Linked DNA regions of Homo sapiens: region 1 is linked to region 2. The links are contacts of gene promoters, found by promoter capture Hi-C in blood cells and fetal thymus (Javierre and others, 2016). All regions are on one chromosome and are shown on one strand. Each heading gives the region's core, a stretch centred on a gene start or on the middle of the fragment in contact. The rest is flanking DNA. Distances are from core to core; before and after follow the strand shown. Region 1 overlaps TSPAN12 (tetraspanin 12). Region 2 holds the start of WNT16 (Wnt family member 16).

Region 1 (4,630 bases), core at 866-3,365, 540 kb before region 2:
AATCTCTAATATAGCAGCCAAAATTTTGAATTGAGCTATTGCTTCCTTGTAGTCCTCATGGTAGCCAGGCAAGGCCTAGGGTGGCCAGTGGCCCCTGAGCTTCACGTATCCTAGCGTGTCTTATAAATAACATATACATGAATGAGTTGGGAAGCTCTGCCTTTCTTACAACAAGGAACCTCTGGAAGTGTTCGAGTAAGGAAGCAGCAAGATAAGAATAAAGTTTCACAAGAATTAATCTGAGTGATAGTTAACAGATCAGTGTTGCCTGGGGCTAGGAGAGGGGAATGCAGGATTTATCACAGATGGGCAAGAGGAAACTTTTTGACACGATGAAAATGTTCTAGATCTCGATTGTTGTTGTGGTTACATGAGTATATATAGTTGCCAAAACTAATTAACTATATACTTGAAAGGGGTATATTTATTAGGGGTGTGTGTGTGTGTATGTGTGTGTGTATATATATATAGTATGTTTTTATATATATATGTATATAAAATCTCAATAAAGTTGATTAAAGAACTTAATTTGGGCTGGGCATGGTGACTCATGCCTGTAATCCCAGCACTTCGGGAGGCTGAGGTGGGCGGATCATGAGGTCAGGAGTTCAAGGCCAGCCTGGTCAACATAGTGAAACCCCATCTCTACTAAAAATACAAAATATTAGCCAGGCGTGGTGATGCACAGCTGTAATCCCAGACATTTGGGAGGCTGAGGCAGGAGAATCGCTTGAACCTGGGAGGCAGGGGTTGCAGTGAGCCGAGGTTGCACCACTGACTTCAGCCTGGGTGACAGTGTGAGACTCTGTCTCAAAAAAAACAGAACTTAATTTGCCTGTGTGTGTATGTGTGTGTACAAGATATTTTAGATAATTTATACTTGTTCTTGGGAAATAATAGTAGGAATGAGGTTAGACAAGAGCATCATTTTGATTTGGCCTGGTGATATTGATTTACATGTAGGAGAATTTGGCTTTTCTAGGTAAAGAATCATCTGAGCTTCACCACAGGCTGGTGAAGATACCATGCCACAAAATGGGGAAAGTGGAAGTATAGCTCTGCCACATATTAGCTAAGTAAATGTATTCAGTCTCTTGGAGTCCCTCTTGTTCATTTGTAAAATAAAGTGGGGTGCCTGCAAATTGCAAATGAGTTGTGAAGAACAGAGAAAATAAGTGTAAAGCACCTCCTACATGTGCCTGGTACCTAGTACGCACCCCTGAAAGTATGAGGTAAAGAGTGATTGCAATTAACACATAAAAATAGAAAAAGAAAAGCTTTCAAGATCAAGATGATACCAAAGATTCTCCTATATATGTTTCTAGGATGTGAGGAAATGAGAACTCAGTTCACAGGGGAGACGAATCTGCTTGTAAATCTCAGGATGACAATAGGAAGGGGGTTGGGTGAAGCAACATAGCAGTTGGCAGTGTTTTAAAAAAGGGGCAGCTTCTTTGCCAGAGAAGATTCAGTAGTATAGTGATTTCTTCTTTCTTTACCTCCCTTGACTCATCCACAGGAGAGGGAATTCAGACAAAAGGAAGCTTCTGTGGCAATCTATTTAAGATTCTCCTCATATAAGATTTGGTTCCCAGCCCATTTTCTGTCAGGCTTCCTGAGATGGGAAAGCAATGCATAAAAATTCTCAGGCTTGACAGTGAATTCTCCTGAGCTCCAGACTGAAATTTACAGCTGCCTGTAGACATCTCCATCTGCATGTCCTGCAGGCATCTCCAACTCTGTGTCTCAGACCAAATTAATTACCCTCTCATACTCGTTCCCCTCCAGTCTTCCATCTAGGTTAATGCCATTGCCAATTTGCCAGGCACAAAATCCAGAAATTTCAGTACTTTTACTTCTTGTCCCACACTCCCTGAGGTCTAGCTACTGCCAATTTTTGTGGATTCACCCTGTTGTGATCTGTTTTATGCACTCTGTTTTTTGACTTCCATTGTCCTGGTGAGGATCCTTATCCCTCTCCAGGACCACAACAACAGCAATCTATTCAGTCTCCTGCCAGGGCCTGCAGTGTGTACAACTCTCAAGTGCTCCACTTACCTAGGCTGTGGTCAATGGTGGCCCACCCACCCAGGAGTTGCAAAATAAGTATAACTGTCTCCTGGTCCCCTCTTTCTCACTTGGCTAATCCAGTTAAATTAATGAAATATTCATCATTTCTCTTTCTGAAATTGCTTCGGTGACTTTACTTTGGGCCTACAGAACAAAGCACCCAAACTCAAATTTCATTCATTTCCTGTCCCATGGCATCTCTTCAATCATTCTATGATCTAACCACATTGAACCATAAGTCATAACTCCAAAATAATGTATACTTTTTAACCTCAAACTCATGGCTCATGGAATATTTTCCATGAGCCAGCTAGACTCCACTGCTCCTTCTGATCCAGCTTGAACGCCATCTCCTTGGCATAGCTGCCTTAATTCCACTCTACTCCATCTCTTATTCTTAAGAAGGGCCCCACTCACTGCATATTCCCTTATTTATTTTTCCTGTGGTTAGCACAAGTGTCTCTAACCCAGATTCTACAGTGTTTAAGGACAGACATCATCTCTTGTTGCCATCTCTGAGTCTCCAGGGCACTTTGAATGGACTTTTAACCAGTCTAAAAATAATCTTCTTAAATTTCTACTTTTAAAAAATGGTGATTTTTTTTTTTAACCAAAGAAAGCTTTTAAAAATTCCCAAAGAAACAGTTAACAGTTTTGTTTGCAATGTACCCAAATAGTGAACTCCCTCAGCTCTACTGCATTAAATATACTTTTTTAACTCCCTTGCAGTTTTATTATTCCAGGTGCACTGCTACCATAAGAGGCTTTGTGAGCTACTGCTATAAATGTCATTCATTCCCATTAAGCAAGTGTATTATATACAAAACGATTGTCTAAATTTATGTTGACCATTCTAGAGGGTAGTGTATCAGGTAATACATCAAAATATCTGAGGTCTAAAAATGTAGAAAGCAACTTTTATAATTTGAGGACTTTTTATTTTACTGAGCCCAACATATTATATGCTTGCTCTTGCTGTGACTGTAAGACATATCAAAAAAAGCAGCAGCTAAATTTGACCATTATACAAATAATTCAAACAAAACTCATACATAGCTATCTCAGTTACGTGGGTATTTTAGGTGAAATTACAGGGATTTGGGGTATTGAGGAAGTTATTAAAAGGGATGCTTTTGGCTCTGATTGAACAAGTAATGTACTCAGTTTTCATTAAAATCTATGGAAGATTTTAAACATGGCAGTCAATTTCAAGGATTATATTCCTTAACTCATTTGAAGAGAATTTGAAATTAACTAAGAGACTCATAGTCTCTTAAAAATTAATAAGTTATAAAACTGTGATATGCAAACATTGAAAAGATGAACACAAATGGGCATATTTTTATATTATCTCAAACAAGTATATTATTTAACATTTAGGTAAAAAGCAAAAGTGAAAAATGGGCATCTTTTTGACTCTTCTCAGTGAAAATACATATTCTTATAGGTCCATTCCGGAGTTTGGAAATCAATATTAATACTTTATGCAATCATTCTTTCTCATGTTTTTCTCCCCTTGACAATCTTCTCAAGTGGCATAAGTGCTTGTAATGTATTAAAAAGTAGGCAGAGACAAATCATTACTCTCTAGAAAATATTTATTGACACATTTTAATTTTCTTTCCATATTCTGAGAAATAAACAAAATACACAAAATACAGTAAAATGCACTTTTCCCATTTCAAATAAATATACTATACTCTTGTAAAAAAATTTAATAATCTGTGTAATTTGCCACAGTATATTAATCAGTGAAATAAAACAAAGAATCTCTAAATTGTCACATGTTTTAATGATTCTCACAAGCATTTTTCTGGAGAAAAAGAACACTATTTTCTGTAGAATTTATATTGACTTGGAGACTATTGCTTCTTGTTTGGAGAAGGCAAAGATAAGCTTTTTAAAAAGTGTTTAGTGTCAAAAAGAGTCTTCATTTGGGAGAAAAACAGCATACAAGTCCTTTCTGAATCAACTAAGTTATGTGCAAATTTTCTTATTAATACTTCCTAAAGACCAGACTACATTCTGAATAATGATTCCTATGTATCACACTGGTAATTTTCAAAATTAGTGGTTAAGTATTTAAATAACAGTTATATGTGTAATATAAGCCCAGGACAGAATAGTAAAGCTTTATTAACAGGAAAGGCTAAAAATAATGATGCTATACAGGACAAATTTTCCTTTTCATAATGGTTATTCTTAACATTATCAGAACTGAAATCGACTGAATTATACAGATTTAACACAGACTTATATACAAAAAATCCCTGATCAGCTTAAGACAATGTGTTAGCTTGCTCTTTTAAGTGGTAAGAATATTTTAGTAACCAGCAAAAATCACATTTAGGTAGTCACCAATATTGAAAGTTTTCTGATATATAATTTATTTAGCATCAGAAGAATAGATCGCTGAGTAATAAAAGTTATTAGTATTTTCTAACTTCCTATGTTAGCATTTAATTAGTACTTTATATACTAGTTGGTAGAAGTAAATCAACCTTTACTATGGCTCCAGTCCCACCATATGTGACTCGTTTGCATGGATGCGGAAATGCTA
Region 2 (4,972 bases), core at 541-3,040:
GGCTTTAGAACCTGGTACATAGTGTACACTCAATAAACATTTGTTGGATAAGGGAGTGAATGGGATAGGATGAAAATTTCAGTGAGCTTTTATTGCTCACTGATTGATATAGGAGATAAGCAGCTAATGCTATCTAATCCTTTTTTTTTTTTTTTTTTTGAGTCGGAGTCTCACTGTGTGCCATAGGCTGGAGTGCAGTGGCGCTATCTCAACTCACTGCAACCTCCACCTCCTAGGTTCAAGCAATTCTCCTGTCTTAGCCTCCCGAGTAGCTGGGATTACAGGCATGCACCACCACACCCAAATAATTTTGTATTTTTAGCAGGGACAGGGTTTCACCATGTTGGCCATGCTGGTCTTGAACTCCTGACCTCTGGTGATCCGCCCATCTTGGCCTCCAAAAGTGCTGGGATTACAGGTGTGAGCCACTGCACCTGGCCCCAAATCCTTTATTTAAGTAATTTTGGCTTTGGGTACCCACTGAGCTGATACGTCCACCATGGGAATGTATTAACACTTCAAAAGATCTCTAAGGACAGATAATGCTTCTTAGAAACATTTCTTGTGTCTAATTAGGTGAGGCAGGCTTTCCCAATACCACAGCTAAACACGTTGCACTTGCCTTCAGATAACTCTCGGAGACCTTCCATCCTACAAAACACTGATTAACTAACCTTCCAAATCTGCCAGTAACTGGAACACTTCCTGCTTCTGAACTATCTTCGGCTCCAGGGAGTACCCTGCTAGATTCTTTAATCTCTCTTACTGATCATCTAAACGTATTTTCTTTTACACTTGTGTATGGTTTATTTGTACAGTTGTGGGAAGAGAGCTTGTCTTTATAAATTCCCACAGGACTAGGCACACAGCAGGTATTTAATAAGTACGTTTTTAAAAATGTGTCTTCCATGTGTAGCCCTGTCCTGCAGGGACGCATCGGGTAGGTGGCAAAGGGGTGCCCAATCCTAGCGAACTTTCAACTGAGGTTGGGGGAGAAGGGCAGGGACCCTCCCACCATGAGAATCGTAAGGTAGGACTGGAGAAAAAGATCAGAGCACATCTCTCATGTACTCTAGAACTCTCCAGAAACCTCTCACTTTCTTTGTCCCCATCTTCTGCAGGGGACTTACAGCGTTCTCAGGGACTGCAGGAAATAAGACAAATAGGGAAAAGGAAATCACAGAGCACGATTGAAATATGGCAGATGAGATGCTAGACTGGAATCTTCTCTTTCGCTCAAAATAAATGCATACATAAATGACAGTGATTGTAAGCCTGACAGCACTTCACCCACTCTCTAAAGTCTCCTGACAGTGGGACCTCAAGCAGGGGACTGGAAGGTTAATTTGTTCGGTACCAACTCTGACTCAAAAAGATTATTCTCCTGTGAGGTGAAGGAGAAGAAAAAAAGGTCAGTGACATTTTCCAGCCACTACACCCAGAGGGTAACCCAGATGTTGGTGGGATGGGTGGGACTCATCAAACCCACGCTTTCCCCCAAGGTTGCTAAGACAGAGCGTCCTGTTAGTCTTCGGGTTGAATCAACCCCACAACGACCCGTTCTAAGGAGACTGTGACAGCAGGAAAGGTCATGACACACCCAGGTCTGGACACGCTGTCCCTGAGGCCAGTGCCCGGAGCGCCCCCCGCGGAGCCGCTCTCCACCAATAAGAGCCTGAGGTCCCGAGATGATGAGATGCGGGGCCGCTGCTCAGCCAATCAGGCTCCAGGCGCGGCCAGGGGGAGGAGATGGGAGGAGAGGCCGGGGGCGATGGAGACGCGGATACATCAACAGAAGTTTCTCACCTAGGAATGCGAGGGGCGCTCCCGCATCTCCTGCACATCTCCACCCCTGCGCAGGAGGAGATCCCCAGGCTGCTCTCTCCATCTCTCCTACAGCTCCCTGCAAACGAGGGGGAAGCTGCTGAGAGTCCCTATCACTGCTGGCCTTTTAATGTTGTATGCAAGGAGGAAGAGGGCGAGGGATAACTTGGTGCTGGACAACTGACCTGCGGCCCGAAGGGCCTCTGGGGAGGGGGTGCAAAAGAGGAGCGGCTGGGCTGGGGGACTCCATGCGGGGGCGATGGACAGGGCGGCGCTCCTGGGACTGGCCCGCTTGTGCGCGCTGTGGGCAGCCCTGCTCGTGCTGTTCCCCTACGGAGCCCAAGGAAACTGGATGTGAGTATGGAGGTGGCAGGGAAGCATCGGGTAGGTGGCAAAAGGGGTGCCCAATCCTAGGGAACTTTCAACTGAGGCTGGGGGAGAAGGGCGGGGACCCTTAGACGAGTGACCTAATTTTTCGGAAAACATCTGGAATTGGGGAGCGGCTTAACGCTACGGGCGGCCGTGTCTTACAGGTGGTTGGGCATTGCCTCCTTCGGGGTTCCAGAGAAGCTGGGCTGCGCCAATTTGCCGCTGAACAGCCGCCAGAAGGAGCTGTGCAAGAGGAAACCGTACCTGCTGCCGAGCATCCGAGAGGGCGCCCGGCTGGGCATTCAGGAGTGCGGGAGCCAGTTCAGACACGAGAGATGGAACTGCATGATCACCGCCGCCGCCACTACCGCCCCGATGGGCGCCAGCCCCCTCTTTGGCTACGAGCTGAGCAGCGGTGAGTCCTGGGTCCTTAGGGGTTGGTGGGGGACGGAAGGCGACAACTCCTCCACCGGTTCCTGCAAATAAAGTAAATAGTGCTACGTGGTCCTGTAGCTCTCTAAGTTCCAGAAGAAGCCCTTTAGTGCACGGGGATTGAGAGCTACAAAGGCCAGACCTGGGGAGCAGGTGCGAGCCTGGAGGGAGGTGACTCCCCAGTTCCAGAGCGGAGCTCTAGGGGCTGGAGCTCTTCCTCTTTCCTGCGGTGCCCCGCCAGAGTTGGAAAAAAAACTCTAATTCTCCTACCCCGCCGACCCCCTCGGACCCCGTAGCGCCCCCCTACGTGGGTGACCAGCTGGAGAAACATGATGTCGGCAGCGGGGAATGCGGCTGCCGCATCTGCTTTGATTTAACCAACTCCGCTGCGCACCAAACCCCGGACAAGTGGCTAATTGCAGCGAAGCCCCACCTTTATTGGCTCCTAGGAGCACCGAGTTGACAGAATAATGGTGACTTTTAAAGCGACTGTCCGCGACCACCCAACGTGCGGCTAACCTGAGCAGGACCACTTGTGCGCTTCTCGTTTCTTTGGCTTTTCTATCTTTCCCTCCTCGGCGCACTCCCGCGGCGCGGGAAGCTGCAGGAAAACAAAGTTCCACTTCCACGTGCGTAGTGACTTGGTAAGGATAAAGGTACAGGGAGCCAGGATTGTTCCTGGAATATCAACAGATCCAAAGAATGTTAGGACTGGGGCGCTGAAGGATGCGCTGTCGTTTTTCATGTTCATTTCCGTTCCCCCTCCGCCTTTGACCCTTGTCCACGCAGTCCCTGCGCGCACCCCCGCCGAGCCGCGCACCTCCCCCGCGGCGTTCTGGCCGGCACGCCCTTCCGAAGGAGCCCTGGTCCCCGTAGAGAGAAAAAAAAAAAAAAAAAAAAAAGAGACAGAAAGAAAAAAAATAGATGTGTTTTTCACAGTTGCTGAAATGCATCAGCTGTTGAAAAGGTTTATTGGACAGCGGGCATGAAACTGTTTCTACTCCAAACTAAACATCTGGAAAGAAAAAAAAAAAGTCGCCTGCTGATTCCCTTCTAGTCCATGTTATTAATGTTTTAATGGACTTTAATTTTCAAAGATTTTAGCTCAAACTCTACTGCAGGTGTGCTAAATGCATAATTTTCAATATTCAATATTTTTAATAGAATTATGTTTTTGCTAGTGACATTTTAATTATCTTACCTTTCATTGCCTTTAAGACTGTAAGAGGAGTAGCTAATACTATATAAAATGTTTAACTGTTTCATGTTAATGTGAGACTAATCTTTAATGTGAAAATATACGGTACCGTTTACTAATTGCTTTGGTCTTTCCTTAATTTTAATTTTCATTCTGACACGTATTATTTATGCAAACAAAAATCACACCAAAATGTTCAGCTTGTGTTCTGTGAGAGCACATTTTAAATTTCAAAAGAAAAGCAATCTAGTGTTCTTTGGGTGTTGTATTACCGTTTACAGTATCTATGCAAAGAATTTTTAATTCAGCATGTATTACTGAGCTATGACTGTCAACTGTGCACTGAACTGGGTGCAAACATACATTTCAAATTTAAAAAATAAAGAGATGATTTTAAGGTAAAGGGACAATGTATGACCATACAGTATATGACAATCTCTTCAAGTGGAATACTGAAAATTAATGTTGCTTTTTAAGAGACTAGAACAAGAGCAAATCTTCCTTTCTAAATATGTACTCGTTAACGCATCCATTGTAAGCAACTGAAAAATTACTTGTCCAGTAAGATCATGAGTAGGAGGCTTTCTTCTGAACATAAACAGAAGTTGCCTGGTTCTCTAATTTAGCAATTTATATTTTTTCTAGGCACCAAAGAGACAGCATTTATTTATGCTGTGATGGCTGCAGGCCTGGTGCATTCTGTGACCAGGTCATGCAGTGCAGGCAACATGACAGAGTGTTCCTGTGACACCACCTTGCAGAACGGCGGCTCAGCAAGTGAAGGCTGGCACTGGGGGGGCTGCTCCGATGATGTCCAGTATGGCATGTGGTTCAGCAGAAAGTTCCTAGATTTCCCCATCGGAAACACCACGGGCAAAGAAAACAAAGTACTATTAGCAATGAACCTACATAACAATGAAGCTGGAAGGCAGGTATGTATTAGAAAATGGAATAATCAAAACCCAGTGCTGTTAGGTAAATAACTAGGATTACACATCTGCATGAAACTGTCCAAATGACTTAAAAACCAAACACTGGCAGCCCTCAAGTGGGATCCTGAAAATTAATATTGTTTTTAAAAGACTACAGCAATAGAAAATTATCCTTTCTAAATATGTATGCGTTAAAGCATCCATGGTAAGCAATTGA

The links. Contacts are between HindIII fragments. The CHiCAGO score rates a contact against its expected background, and 5 or more counts as called.
Region 1: a contact is called between a fragment that was not itself captured here and the fragment with the promoter of WNT16 in region 2, in 1 of 17 cell types (erythroblasts). The highest score is 6.6, in erythroblasts.

Annotation. Positions count from the first base shown.
Region 1 is chr7:120,783,670-120,788,299 of GRCh38, forward strand. It overlaps TSPAN12 (tetraspanin 12), which reads right to left. Exons shown (of 8, transcript NM_012338.4): 8 at 3,651-4,630. Among named protein-coding and RNA genes, the nearest start is that of TSPAN12, 72 kb to the right of the region's middle. The HindIII fragment of the contact is 1,146 bases long and covers 1,543-2,688 here.
Region 2 is chr7:121,327,210-121,332,181 of GRCh38, forward strand. It overlaps WNT16 (Wnt family member 16), which reads left to right and starts at 1,791. Exons shown (of 4, transcript NM_057168.2): 1 at 1,791-2,178; 2 at 2,358-2,608; 3 at 4,469-4,755. The coding sequence starts at 2,084. The HindIII fragment of the contact is 8,913 bases long and covers 1-4,972 here.